2 separate regions of the Homo sapiens genome follow, and region 1 is linked to region 2. The links are contacts of gene promoters, found by promoter capture Hi-C in human tissues and cell types (Jung and others, 2019). All regions are on one chromosome and are shown on one strand. Each heading gives the region's core, a stretch centred on a gene start or on the middle of the fragment in contact. The rest is flanking DNA. Distances are from core to core; before and after follow the strand shown.

The links. The method cuts DNA at HindIII sites, captures the fragments that hold promoters and counts their contacts. A contact is called where the count stands out against the background at its distance.
Region 1: a fragment that was not itself captured here is called in contact with the fragment with the promoter of CTCF in region 2 in 1 of the 25 tissues and cell types used here (spleen).

The regions. Positions count from the first base shown.
Region 1 is chr16:67,818,752-67,825,225 of GRCh38, forward strand. It overlaps TSNAXIP1 (translin associated factor X interacting protein 1), which reads left to right. Exons shown (of 16, transcript NM_001288990.3): 3 at 2,088-2,200; 4 at 2,348-2,474; 5 at 4,875-4,968; 6 at 5,832-6,028; 7 at 6,386-6,474. Among named protein-coding and RNA genes, the nearest start is that of TSNAXIP1, 15 kb to the left of the region's middle. The HindIII fragment of the contact is 3,588 bases long and covers 3,151-6,474 here.
Region 2 is chr16:67,559,094-67,566,485 of GRCh38, forward strand. CTCF (CCCTC-binding factor) reads left to right here and starts at 3,433. Exons shown (of 12, transcript NM_006565.4): 1 at 3,433-3,631. It overlaps CTCF-DT (CTCF divergent transcript), which reads right to left and starts at 3,216. Exons shown (of 1, transcript NR_158165.1): 1 at 2,318-3,216. LOC124903703 (a long non-coding RNA gene) reads right to left here and starts at 4,357. Exons shown (of 2, transcript XR_007065094.1): 1 at 4,202-4,357. RefSeq lists enhancers at 2,525-2,574, 2,595-2,644, 3,789-4,651 and silencers at 2,875-3,884, 4,405-4,504. The HindIII fragment of the contact is 9,573 bases long and covers 1-7,392 here.

The DNA.
Region 1 (6,474 bases), core at 3,695-6,194, 260 kb after region 2:
GGAGTACAGTCGTGCCATGTCTGCTCACTGTGGCCTCTGCCTCCAGGGTTGAGGCAATTCTTCTGCCTCGGCCTCCGAAATAGCTGGGATTACAGGCGTGCACTACCAGGCCTGGTTAATTTTTGTATTTTTAGTAGAGATGGGGTTTCAACATGTTGGCCAGGCTGGCCTCAAATTCCTGGCCTCAGGTTATCCGCTTGCCTCCGCCTCCCAAAGTGCTGGGAATCAGGCGTGAGCTGGGCGCGATGGCTCACACTTGTAATCTCTACTAAAAATACAAAAGAACTGGGCATGGTGGCAGGCCAGCTACTCGGGAGTCTGAGGCAGGAGAATTGCTTGAACTCAAGAGGCAGAGCTGCAGTGAGCAGAGATCGTGCTACTGTACTGCACTCCAGCTTGGGCAACTCCAGCTTGGCAACTCCATCTCAAATAAATAAATAAATACATACATATAAACATACATACATAAATAATTACATCCATTTTGATAGTCTTTTTTTTTTTTTTTTGAGATGGAGTTTCACTCTTGTCCCCGTGGCTGGAGTGCAAGGGGTCGATCCCAGCTCACTGCAACCTCTGCCTCCCGAGTTCAAGCGATTCTCCTGCCTCAGCCTCCCGAGTAACTGGGAATACAGGCGTGTGCCACCATGCCCGGCTAATTTTTGTATTTTTAGTAGAGATGGAGTTTCACCATGTTGGCCAGGCTGGTCTCAAATTCCTGACCTCAAGTGATCTGCCCACCTTGGCCTCAAAGTGCTAAAAGTCGCACATCTTGGCCTCCCAAACTGCTGGGATTACGGGCATGAGCCACTGTGCCCGGCCAGAATAGCTAATCTTTACTGAGTTCCTAGCAAGTACCAGGGTCCATGTGAAGCACACATTATGCTTTCCCTCTTTTTTTTTTTTTTTTTTTGAGACAGAGTTTTGTTCTTGTTGTCCAGGCTGGAGTGCAATGGTGCAATCTCAGCTCACCGCAACCTCCGCTTCCCGGGTTCAAGGGATTCTCCTGCCTCAGCCTCCTGAGTAGCTGGGACTATAAGCACATGCCACCACACCTGGCTAAATTTTTTTTTTTTTTTTTTTTTTGAGACTGAGTCTCGCTCTGTCGCCAGGCTGGAGTGCAGTGGCGCAATCTTGGCTCACTGCAAACTCCGCCTCCTGGGTTCATGCCATTCTCCTGCCTCAGCCTCCAGAGTAGCTGGGACTACAGGTGTCCGACACCACGCCCGGCTAATTTTTTGTATTTTTAGTAGAGACGGGGTTTCACTGTGTTAACCAGGATGGTCTCGATCTCCTGACCTCGTGATCCATCCGCCTTGGCCTTGCAAAGTGCTGGGATTACAGGCGTGAGCCACCATGCCCGGCCTAATTTTTTTTTGTATTTTTAGTAGAGACGGGGTTTCACCGTGTTAGCCAGGATAGTCTCGATCTCCTGACCTCGTGATCCACCCACCTCAGCCTCCGAAAGTGCTGGGAATTACAGGCGTGAGCCACCGCGCCCGACTATGCTTTCTCACTGCATCCTCACATCAATACACTGTGACAAAGACTACCATCATCCCTATTTTACAGACGTGAGAACTAAGGCTCAGAGAAGTTGTGACATAGCTAATAAGGGACATTTGAGACTTAACCCGAGTCTTCTCTAACTCAAGAACCCACAGTCTTAATTATGAACCATGTTGAGAGATGTTTGTAAAACACATCAGGGCTGGCCAGGCACAGTGGTTCACGCCTGTAATCCCAGCACTTTGGGAGGCCAAAGTGGGTGGATCACGAGGTTAAGAGTTCAAGACCAGCCTGGCCAAGATGGTGAAACCACGTCTCTACTAAAAATACAAAAATTAGATGGGTGTGGTGGTGGGTGCTTGTAATCTCAACTATTCGGGAGGCTGAGGCAGAGAACAGCTTGAACCTGGGAGGCGAAGGTTGCAGTGAGCCAAGATCGTGCCACCACACTCCAGCCTGGGCAACAGAGCAAGACTGTCTCAAAAAAAAAAAGTCAGGACTGGGGGAGGAGAGATGGAGAGAAACATTAGGAAGGGGAGCAATGTTGCCATGGCAACCCCACCTGTACCTCCCTGCAGACTGGTCAGTTCTCCATGGGTGGGCACCTGTCCCCATGGCCCACATACACCAGTGGCCAGACCATTTTGCAAAATCGAAAACCCTGTTCAGATGACTACCGGAAGCGAGTAGGGTAAGCCAGGGTCAGTCCCATGGTGGGTGAGCTGGCATGGGCCAGGCTTTGGGCCAGGAGACAGGGCAGGGGCGTGTGTTGCCCCAGACTGAGGGCACAAGGGCCCCGTGGGGGTGCTGGCCACATATCAGCCACTGTCCCCTGCAGGAGCTGCCAGCAGCACCCCTTTCGCACTGCCAAGCCCCAGTACTTGGAGGAACTGGAAAACTACCTACGCAAGGAGCTCCTCCTGCTGGACCTGGGCACAGATTCCACCCAGGAACTAAGGCTGCAGGTCAGAGCCACAGAAGAAACTTGGGGAGGGCGGGGGAAGGGTGGGAAGAAGCTTCACCTACCGGCCGGGCACAGTGGCTCACGCCTGTAATCTCAGCACTTTGGGAGGCCAAGGCGGGTGGACCACCTGAGGTCAGGAGTTCAAGACCAGCCTGGCCAACATGGCGAAACCCCGTCTCTACTAAAAGTACAAAAATTAGCCAGGCATGGTAGTGGGCACCTGTAGTCCCAGCTACTCAGGAGGCTGAGGCAGGAGAATCGCTTGAACCCTGAACCCGGGAGGCAGCGGTTGCAGTGAGACAAGATCACACCACTGCACTCCAACCTGGGCGACAAGAGTGAGACTCCGTCTCAAAAACAAAAAAAAGCCTCACCTACAAGGACTGAGCACCTCAGACCTTCAGGGGAGACCCACCTCTCCCAGCTCTCCTGGGTCTCCTTCCCTGAACAGAAGCATGAAACATCCCATGAAAATGCCAGTGAGGCCGGGCACAGTGGCTCATGCCTGTAATCCCAGCACTTCGGGAGGCTGAGGCAGGAGGATCGCTTGAGGTCAGGAGTTCAAGACCAGCCTGGTCAACATGGTGAAACCCTGCCTCTACTAAAAATACAAAACCTGCAGTGGTGGTACACACCTGTAGTCCCAGCTACTCAGGAGGCTGAGGCAGGAGAATTGCTTGAACCCAGGCGGCAGAGGTTGCAGTGAGCCGAGATCATGCCACTGCACTACAGCCTGGGCAACAGAGTGAGACTCTGTCAACAGAAAAAAGAAGGCCAGGCACGGTGGCTCACACCTGTAATCCCAGCAGTTTGGGAGGCCGAGGCAGGCGGATCACCAGGTCAGGAGATCGAGACCATCCTGGCTAACATGGTGAAACCCCGTCTCTACTAAAAATACAAAAAAATTAGCCAGGTGTGGTGGCAGGCACCTGTAGTCCCAGCTGCTCGGGAGGCTGAGGCAGGAGAATGGCATGAACCTGGGAGGCGGAGCTTGCAGTGAGCCAAGTTCACGCCACTGCACTCCAGCCTGGGCAACAGAGTGAGACTCCATCTCAAAAAAAAAAAAAAAAAAAGAAAACGCCAGTGAGCAGGCAAGGCTGCAATGTGGATCCAAAAGTCTCCTGAGGCTGGAGTTTCCTCACCTGAGTCAGGTGGCCTGGATGCTGTGCCCAGTCCCTGCAGCTCTGTGATCCCCAGTACCCAGGTTGGGCCACTGGACATCAGTGAACGTAGCCTGAATGCTGGCAGTTGGGCAAGCAGGGGTCACACCGTGTTTACCAGTCCAGTGGCAACAACCCCAAGCTTAAGGAACCAGCACAGATGCATAAGGAGGGAGGGAGGAAGAGAGAGAGAGAGAGAGAGAGAGATCAGATCCAACCCAGATACCAGTGTATAGTAGGGAGAGAATCACCAAATCTGCTTAAACAAGGATGATGACAGAGAATCCCTGCCTTTTGACTTAGTCATTGACTAAAGCATTTACTGAGCACTGGCTATGTGCAAGTGCAAGGCCCTGGGCTGGGGCCTTACATCGATCTCCTGAACAGATAAGGAAGAAAGCATACCACTATGGCGTAGTGGGGCTGGGCTTCAAACTCAGGGCTGACTCTGGAGACTGTGCTCATTTCAGTGAGCAATGCTGCCTCCAGAAACCTCCCATGTGTCCAAATGGGACAGAAGACCACACCCCTACTTGCATGTCAGGATGCAAGGGTACAACCTTCAATCTCCTGAATCTACCAGGCTCTAAGATGGGGAGAGGTTACAAGTGAGAGGCCAATGATGCAGTGTCTAGAAGGCAAGAGGCTGGCTGCCTGGAGAGCCAGAGAGGGGCTCAGGCACAGAGTGGATGTCTGTCTATGGTCATGGCAGTCCACTAGGCCTCAGAGACAGCATCAGGACAGGCCTCCAGAGAGCTGCCCCCCAGGCTCCGTGGCACTGTGAGGTACCCGGGTGGTATCTAGGGCATTTACTTGAATATAAGTGACCTGGCAGCCTCATGCTGGAATACTGCTAAGCCCAGTAAAGAAAAAAACAGTGCCAGGCACAGTGGCTCACACCTGTAATCCCAGCACTCTGGGAGGCCGAGGTGGGTGGATCACGAGGTCAGGAGATCGAGACCATCCAGGCCAACATGGTGAAACCTCATCTCTACTAAAAATACAAAAATTAGCCAGGTGTGGTGGCGCGTGCCTGTAATCCCAGCTACTCAGGAGGCTGAGGCAGGAGAATCACTTGAACCTGGGAGGCAGAGGTTGCAGTGAGCTGAGATTGCACCACAGCACTCCAGCCTGGGTGATGGAGCGACACTCCGTCTCAGGAAAAAAGAAAAAGAAAAACAGTTCCCCACTAAGGTTGGCAGCTGTGGGCTAGGAGATGATGGGTTCCCTTTTCTTGCCAGCCTTACAGAGAGATCTTTGAGTTCTTCATAGAGGACTTCAAAACGTACAAGCCATTACTATCCTCCATCAAGAATGCGTATGAGGGGATGCTGGGTAAGAATGCACCTCCTGCCAGGCGTAGTGGCTCACGCCTGTAATCCCAGCACTTTAGGAGGCCGAGGCGGTAGATCACTTGAGGTCAGGAGTTTGAGACCAGCCTGGCCAACATGGTGAAACCCTGTCTCTAGTAAAAACACAAAAAAATTAGCTGCGCATGGTGGCACACACCTGTAATCCCAGCTACTTGGGAGACTGAGGCAGGAGAATTGCTTGAACCTAGGAGGTGGAGGTTGCAGTGAGTTGAGATCACACCACCGCACTCCAGCCTGGGCAAAAGAACAAGACTCCATCGCAAAAAAAAAAAAAAAAAAAGAATGCAGCTCCCCTCCTTGTCCCAGCCTGGAAGGGGTGGAGAAGATCCTATTCGACCTTCTGGTGCTCCACAGCAGGGCTGGGGCAGCTACCAACTGGGCCTTGAGGTCACCAAGGCCCCTCAGCCATTCTGCACAGACTGTTCCATGATAGGGCACCCCAGAGCACCTGACAACACCTGTCATTGAGAAGCACAGGGGGGCAGTCCCTGTTGAAAATGGAGTGAACCCCAGGAGAGAGTCAGCACCTCTGGGAGTCAGCAGGCTCCCCTGCCAGGCTCAGGAGGTGCAGGGCATGGTGCAGCTGCAGGACTTAAGGCTGTAGGGGAAAGGACATAGGAGAGACCCCGGTCTTCATCTGAACTCTGCCCTTTGTTTAAAATCAAGTGCAGGAAGGCCTGAAACAGGGACCATGGCTTTGAACAAGGCATGCAGAGATTCTTGGGGTTTGCAAGCGACATAGCCACTCACCCATGACCTTAGGGTGTCTTCTGGCTGTTTGTTCTCCATGGCCCCAAAGCAGCTCTCCCACCTGTCTCTGCTTAGCCCACCAAAGGGAGAAGATTCGGGCTCTGGAGCCCCTGAAGGCCAAGCTTGTCACTGTGAATGAGGACTGCAATGAGAGGATCCTGGCCATGAGAGCTGAGGAGAAATATGAAATCTCCCTGCTCAAGAAAGAGAAGATGAACTTGCTAAAACTCATCGACAAAAAGAATGAGGAGAAGATTTCATTGCAGAGCGAGGTGAATGGAAGTGGTGTGATGATGACCAAGTCCCCGAATTCCTGCCAACTCCACGACAAGGGTGACCCCCTACCCTGCTCTGCCTTTCTACGGAGAGTGACACACTGAGCCACCACCTTCCCCCAGAGCCTTGCTAACTCCACCCTCTGCCCTGCTGCTAGGCTCAGTACTTTCCCCACAGGGGGAAACATTGGCACCTTGCCGAATTCTCAGAAATGGCCAATCTCCTTCTTCTTTCACCTTTCCTGTTCACAGTCCCTGATGGGGCCCCCCAGAACCCAGCCCACTCCCTGGGGTGACCAGCTGCATACAGGGGTCCAGGGGCAGCCCCTGACCACACAGCCACCTTCTTGCCAGGTGACCAAACTGAGGAAGAACTTGGCTGAGGAGTACCTGCACTACCTCAGTGAGCGAGATGCCTGTAAGATCCTCATCGCAGACCTGAA
Region 2 (7,392 bases), core at 2,183-4,682:
AATGTCTTGCTCTGTCACTCAGGCTGGAATGTAGTGGTGCAATCGGGGTTCACTGCAGCTTCAACCTCCTGGGCTCAAGTGATGCTCCTGCCTCAGCCTCCCAAGTATCTGGGACTACAGGTACACACCACCATGTTCAGCTAATTTTTTGTAGAGATGGGCTTTTGCCATGTTACCCAGGCTAGTCTCAAACTCCTGGGCTCAAGTAATCCACCTACCTTGGCCTCCCAAAGTGCTGGGATTACAGGCATGAGCCACTGTGCCTGGCCTATTTTTTATTTTTTTGAGACAGGGTCTTGCTTCATCACCCAGGCTGGAGTACAGTGGCACACACATGGCTCCCTGTAGTCTCGACCTCCTGGGCTCAAGCGATCTTCCCACCTCAGCCTCCCAAGTAGCTGGGACTACAGTCATACGCCACCACACTCAGCTAATTTTTAAATTTTTTGTATAAACAAGGTCTCCCTATGTGCATGTCAGCTTTGTTGTTTCTAGTACATAAGTTCTTAAGTATACCAGGAACTATTTGGGCTGAGGAGAATGCAAAATGCAAATATTCCAGAAGCATCTGTTTGGTAATTTTCCTCTGAGTTTGTCTTTTCTTTATGTCTGAGTCCTAATGTGTACATAAGAGGCAAATGGGATAACTTGGTTTCTAGAAAAAGAAGGGTCACGTGTAAATTTTTCAAATACTTCACACATTTCTAAAATAGTATCTAATTGTATAAGGTAAGTAACTGGGATTAGACATGAGAAAACTTGCCGGGCGCGGTGAGTCGCTCCTGTAATCCCAGCACTTTGGGAGGCCGAGGCGGGCGGATCACCTGAGGTTGGGAGTTCAAGACCAGCCTGACCAACATGGAGAAACCCCATCTCTACTAAAAATACAAAATTAGTCGGGGGTGGTAGCGCATGCCTGTAATCCCAGCTACTCAGGAGGTTGAGGCAGGAGAATCGCTTGAACCCAGGAGGCAGAGGTTGTGGTGAGCTGAGATCACACCATTGCACTCCAGCCTGGGCGATAAGAGCAAAACTCCGTCTCAAAAAAAAAAAAAAGAAATGAGAAAAATTGGGTCCTGGTGTTGAGAAGCTGTACTATCCCTTTTCTTCATGTCTGTACCCAAGCAGCTGAATGTTGGAGAAAAACCAACACACTGGGCCAACTGGTTTACCTTTAACATCATGATCACAAACCTCAGATGAGTACCCAATGCCACCAAGGCAATCCTGTTAAGGACTTGCCTTCCCTCTCCCCTGCACTTGCATCTGTCTTCACCTTTGTTGCCCTTATCATGAATGGAAGCATCCCTGTTCCTCTCCAAGGTCAACCCTCCCTGTTTCCTTATATCTTCTGATGGATTTCACTCCTATATAGGTCAAGCAAGCCTCCTCTCTCCTGGATCACCCATCTTTCTTCCCCACCATATCCCTCCCAATGGCACATAAACATGCTCTGGGAACCCTACCATCTTTTATTTTATTTATTATTATTTTTTGAGATGGAGTCCCGCTTTGTTGCCCAGGCTGGAGTGCTGTGGCCCAATCTTGGCTCTCTGCAACCTCTGCCTCCCGGGTTCAAGCAATTCTCCTGCCTCAGCCTCCCCAGTAGCTTGGATTACAGGCGCGCGATACCATGCCCAACTAATTTTTGTATTTTTAGTAGAGACCGGGTTTCACCATATTGGCCAGGCTGGTCTCGAACTCCTGACCTCAGGTGATCCACCTGCCTTGGCCTCCCAAAGTGCTAGGATAACAGGCGTGAGCCACTGCGCCCGGCCCCTACTATCTTTTAAAAGATTTCTTTCTATATCTATCCCCAAACTTATCTGGTCCCTTCACAGCAAAACCTCTCTCAAATTGCATACATGTGCTGTCTCCATTTCCTCACTTTCCTGGTGACTGTTTAACCCATTCCGGTCAGGTCCACCTCCCTGATATACTCACGTGAATCAAGCCAAGGCCATCAGTGACATTCTCCAGTGACTTGCAAGGTGACCCAATCCAATAGCCACATCTCTGGCCCAAGTTTATCACACCGCTCAGCTGATGCCTCCTACCTGAAACCTTCTCTGCCCAGGGATTCCACAACTCAGCGCTAGCTTTCATGACTTCCTAGATGCTGCCTTTCAGACTCCTTCTCCATTACCCTCCCAATATTGGAGTGCCCCAGGATTTGGCCATGGAATTTCTCTTCACTCTTTCCTCCAAGCCAAGCCAGGGGTCGTAAACTGACAGCTCATCTGTGTGGTTTAATCAGCTCATGAAGTTTAAAAACATCTGATTCAGTTGCTAACATCTAAAAACTCTGGAGATTTGACATCTTAAAAATACAGATTTTTTTATTCCTTTAGGGGAAAAAAAAAGAGTATGTTATTGGGCCAGCATTCTCACAACGGAACGGTCAGATGGATGGAGAAGAAGCTGCTCCCTAGATATTGGGTCCATTTGATATCTAAGGGAAGAGTCATATTCCCTGTAAGTACCAAAAGGCTCTCATCCCAGAGCCACCAGCACCTTGCAGTCAGTTCTTGGTCAACTTGACTGCAGGTTGGGAAGGGTCCGCAGGCGCCTCCTGGGGAGGGGTGGGACTGAAGGTCTCCGCCCACAGAGAACAGCTCTCCCGCAAAGACAAGAAATGCACGTTTCCACAGAATTACACAGCGCTAAATACAGAAACTCCTTTCAGTAAAAAGCGATTGCTATGAACGTGTTAAAGCATCAAGTCTGGTTTTCCGCCACCTCTCCGGGCTGAGGTGGCCTGGGGACACCAAGAGGAGGCCCTCCCACTCTCCTCTCGCACCCGCTTTTAGGTGGCCCTCTTCTAGGGCGGAGAGATCACCAAAAGCCGCTGAGCAAGGACAGCCCTTCCAGTCGTCGCTCGCGGGCACGGAGCTGGGAGCGCGCGGGAACCGACCGGGCCTTACTCTGGGGCGGGCAGCTGTAAGACATTCGGAGGGCGGGTCGGGCCTGGCTGGGGCGGAGACTGGGCGGGGCCGGGCCCGGGAGCCTCCTCAGCCCCACTGGCTTGCCCCGCGCGCGCTTCCTCCAGCCACCCCCACTTCCCCAACCCTGTACGGGTTCAGGGGGCCGGAGACAGCAGCTAGGGAATAAGGTCAAGCGGACTGGATCCGGCACCGCCCAGGGGCGGCGGCCTCCGCCCAGGAAGCCCCACCCAGCGGGAGCCAGGACGCCGCGGCGCCGGCAGAGCCCACGAGCGACCCGGCGAGGGCGCGTGCGGCGTGACGACGCGACTCGCGGCGCGTCCCGTGACGCCATCGCGCCCGCTTTTGAAAGTTGGCGCCCGGGGCCGCCTCCCATGCTGCCCTGCGCCAACCCCTCCCCTCACCTTTCCTCCCCCGCCCTCTACTCGCCGCCCGGCCGGTCCCCCCACCCGTCCCTTCCCTTATCAGCACCCGCGGCCCCGGCAGCGCCGACGCAGGCGCACTGCACCGCGCCGCCGCCATTTTGTGTCTGAGCCTGTGGAGCGATTAAACCGTGCGCGGAGCTGCTTCTTTGGCGGCAGCGGCGGCGGCGGTGGCCGGTGCGGACGCGCGGAGCTCGCCGGAGACGCCGGGTGGCCGGAGCCGTGGAGCGGCGGCGGAGCGGGCGCCGCGGGGGGTGTGGCGCGGAGGTAAGGGGGCCCGGGGTGGAGGAGGTTTCGCGGGCCGCCTCTAGGTGTCACGATGGGGCCGCTCCGGTCGGCGCTGGCTGCAGCCCGGCGCCAGCGCCGCCGCCGGGGGGTGTTTGTCTCCCTCTACCGTCCCTGCTGCGGCGCGGCCGCCGCCATTGCCCGTCGCCGCCGTGGCCCGGCCGCCCCCCCCACCCCCACGCCCGCCCGCCCGCCCGCCCGCTAGGCCTCCCTCCTGGCAGCGCGCTAGGCCTCGGGCGGCGGCAGAGGCAGAGGCCCGCGCGCCCGGCGACTCCATTTTCCTTCCTTTGTCTGCCCTCGAGGCCGGTTCTTGGCCGGCCGATCGCCCGGCCGCGGCCCGCCCTCTGTCCTGTGTCCTCCGCCCCTCCCGCGGCGGGTGGCCCCAGCTGAGACACTATCTCCGCGTCCCGGCTTCGGCGCCCGCCTAGCTTAAGGGTTCGGACCGACTGCCGCCGCGCGCTAAGCCAGGTCCCGGTGCCGTATGGGTGTCGGGCCCTGGCCGTCGCGTCTCGGGCTGCCCCTCCTCCAGCCAGCCCCGTCCCCGGAACCTACCCTGCCGGCCTGCGTGCCTTCCCAGCTGCTTGGCTGCTCGGCGGTCGCTCCCAGTCCGCGCGTCGCCGCCGCTGGTCTCCGTCTCCGCCGAGTGGCGCAGGCGGCGCTGCAGCGGCTGCGAGCAGAGGGACCCCAGAGCTGCCGAGAGCTCCCTCTGCAAGGCTGGCTGAGCTGCTCGCACCTCTACGCTGCCTGAGCGGGCGGGGGGACGCGCGCTCGCCGCCCCCGCTGCGCCCCCAAACTCGCGCCCGGGTTCCTGGCCGGACCCGACCGGTGCGGCCCCCCCACGGTGGGCGGAAAAGATGCGAGTTCCGCACCAAGTAGTTTTTATCCAGCCGGGTTCGGACTCCCCAGCCGAGTGATAGCAGCCTGACTTTGTGCGCTCAGAGATCTCAAAGGGACTGAAACTTAAATTTCATTCTGATCTCAAGTGACGTGACAAATTTCTGAATTTGGGAGTATGGGCTAAGTCCCTTGAGTTTCCCTCCCGCTTTAAAATGTCCTCACACTAACTTAGTACCTGATGCTCTAGGGCTAGGTGAAGGCGGTTCTGCCCCAGGATTGTGCAACTCGATCTAGAGCGCCAGTAGGGCAGAATGAGTTTATTCTTGACTCGACTGGTAATTTGCCCATGCGATGAAATATGAGGGTTGATGTTGTAATTGAATCCTGGGTCACTTGCTGCAGATGGTTTATAAATATCTACGCCTAATGTAACTACTGTTTAGTAGGAGACTTCCTGTAGCCCCGAGTTCAGCGTTAAGTAAACATTCGCATACGTAGTCTTCATACTTTGAGTTTCGATCAACTAGGAAAGTTAAAAACCAAGTCCTCATAGGTGGGAAAGGAAGTTAAACAAGGCATATATTTAAATTTATTCGGTCCTTAAGTTTTCTTTCTTCACTAAAAAGCATCCCGTTGAATTGCGGGAGTCTTTTGCTTTTCCGTAAATATTCTAGTGCCTTAATATAGTTCATTGCAGCAGTTAATGTATCAGTTCGGGTTGTTTTGGAGAGAAGAAAGTCTGGATTAACCTGTTTTTAGGAAGGAAGCTATGTTAAGTTTATGAAGAAATTAAACAGCCTGGTCCTAACCAAAGTTGTCCAGTCCACTGTATGTAATCTCAATGTGTAGCTCCTCACTGCAGTCCTCTTCGTAGGCACGCTTTCTATGTCTCCTTTTGGAACCCTGCAAAATATTCCTGCCACCCCTCTTCCTCAATAAAATTGCATAGAGTAACTAAATGCAGTAGCGTTGATTGATAGTTAGACTTGGGAATAGAATCACCTTTAATTATCTAATATGTTAGTCCAATTGTGTAATTTATTGCATTCTTTTGTGACTTTGTTTTCCTTTTGAAATTGTGGTTAAGTAGCATGTTTTATTTATTTAAATAAGCTCAACATTGAGTTAAAAATTAAAATACAGCAGGTGTATAATCGAGCCAGGAGTAAAGCTTGTTTTCCCGGGTTAGTACTGTGCTCCATAGACCATATTTTGCTTCTTGGTTTGGTTGTTTCATATGCAGTCATCAGCTTCTTGGGTTTATACGTCATTTATGCTGTTTTAGTGGAATAGACCTTTTCCACACAGTTGCTATCCTTTGAAATTCCCATATGCCAGGAATCATGCTTTGTTTTGTTTTTATTAAAAAACAATCTACGGAGAGAATAAATTGAGGATGAATTGATATGTTAGGGTAACCCAGACCTTTTTTTTTTTTTGAGACGGAGTCTCGTTCTGTCCCCTAGGCTGGAGTGGCAGTGGTGCGATCTCGGCTCACTGCAACCTCTGCCTCCCGGATTCAAGCAATTCTCCTGTCTCTGCCTCCCAAGTAGCAGGAATTACAGGCCCGTGCCACCACGCCCGGCTAATTTTTGTATTTTTAGTAGAGACGGGTTTTCACGATGTTGGCCAGGCTGGTCTCGAACTCCTGACCTCAGGTGATCCACCCGCCTCAGCCTCCCAGAGTGCTGGGATTACAGGCGTGAGCCATCTCGCCAGGCCAGGACCTGTTATTTAAATTAGTGATAGGAGGATGATTAAAACAGGAATGTTTGCCTGCATAAGAAAATACTGCCTATTTAAGAGTAGTTGTGGCTGGGAGCGGTGGCTCACGCCTGTAATCCCAGCACTTTGGGTGACCAAGGCGGGAGAATCACGAGGTCAGGAGATTGAGACCATCCTGACTAACACAGTGAAACCCTGTCTCTACTAAAAATACAAAAAATTAGCCAGGCATGGTGGCACACGCCGTAGTCCTGGCTACTAGGGAGGCTGAGACAGGAGAACCGCTCGAACCTAGAAGGTGGAGGTTGCAGTGAGCCGAGATTGTGCTGCTGCACTCCAGCCTGGGCAACAGAGCAAGACTCTTATCTCAAAAAAAAAAAAAAAAAAAAAGAGTAGTTGTAAAGGTTAACTTTATCGGGATCCATTCAACCTATGTAAGAATTTAAGAGGTGAAGTTGTCCTTAAGATGCATTCAAATTCTAAGAGCTTTAGGATTTTATTTTAAAGTACACACGCAAATGGGGGCACTCACCTGGGACTTCTGAATGGCTTGGGGAGTTCCTTGGTGGAAGCCACTTGTGGCTGACTTAAGGCCCTGGGGAGGAATCCTGGGCAGAGCCTTGCAGGCTGGTGCCTCCTGGCCAAAAGTCACCTCTAGAGACTGCTTTTTTTGCTTCAGGGATGCTGCTGCTGTCACAGCCATTCCACATCATCTACGTTATAGACTCCACCTAATTTTTTTAAACTAGACCATCTGTCTGCCTAATTTACCTGTCTTGGCTCCAGATGACTTGACTGTTTTGCCAAAAATTAGGCCCCTCTTCAAACAACTCAGATGCATTATGATTTAAAAAGAACAATAATGGCAAATAATGTGTAACTTTGAAGACCATGGTTCTCAATTGATGTGATTTGTAGGTGGGACATGGTGGCTCACACCTGTAATCCCAGCACTTTGGGAGGCTGAGGCGGGCGGATCACCTGAGGTCAGGAGTTTGAGACCAGCCTGGCCAACATGGTGAGACCCCATCTTTACCAAAAACACAAAAATTAGCTGAGCGTGGTGGCATATGTCTGTTTCTGTAATCCCAGCTACTCAGGAGGCTGAGTCAGGAGAATCACTTGAACCCGGGAGGCGGAGGTTGCAGTGAGTCAAGATCGTGCCGTTGCACTCCAGCCTG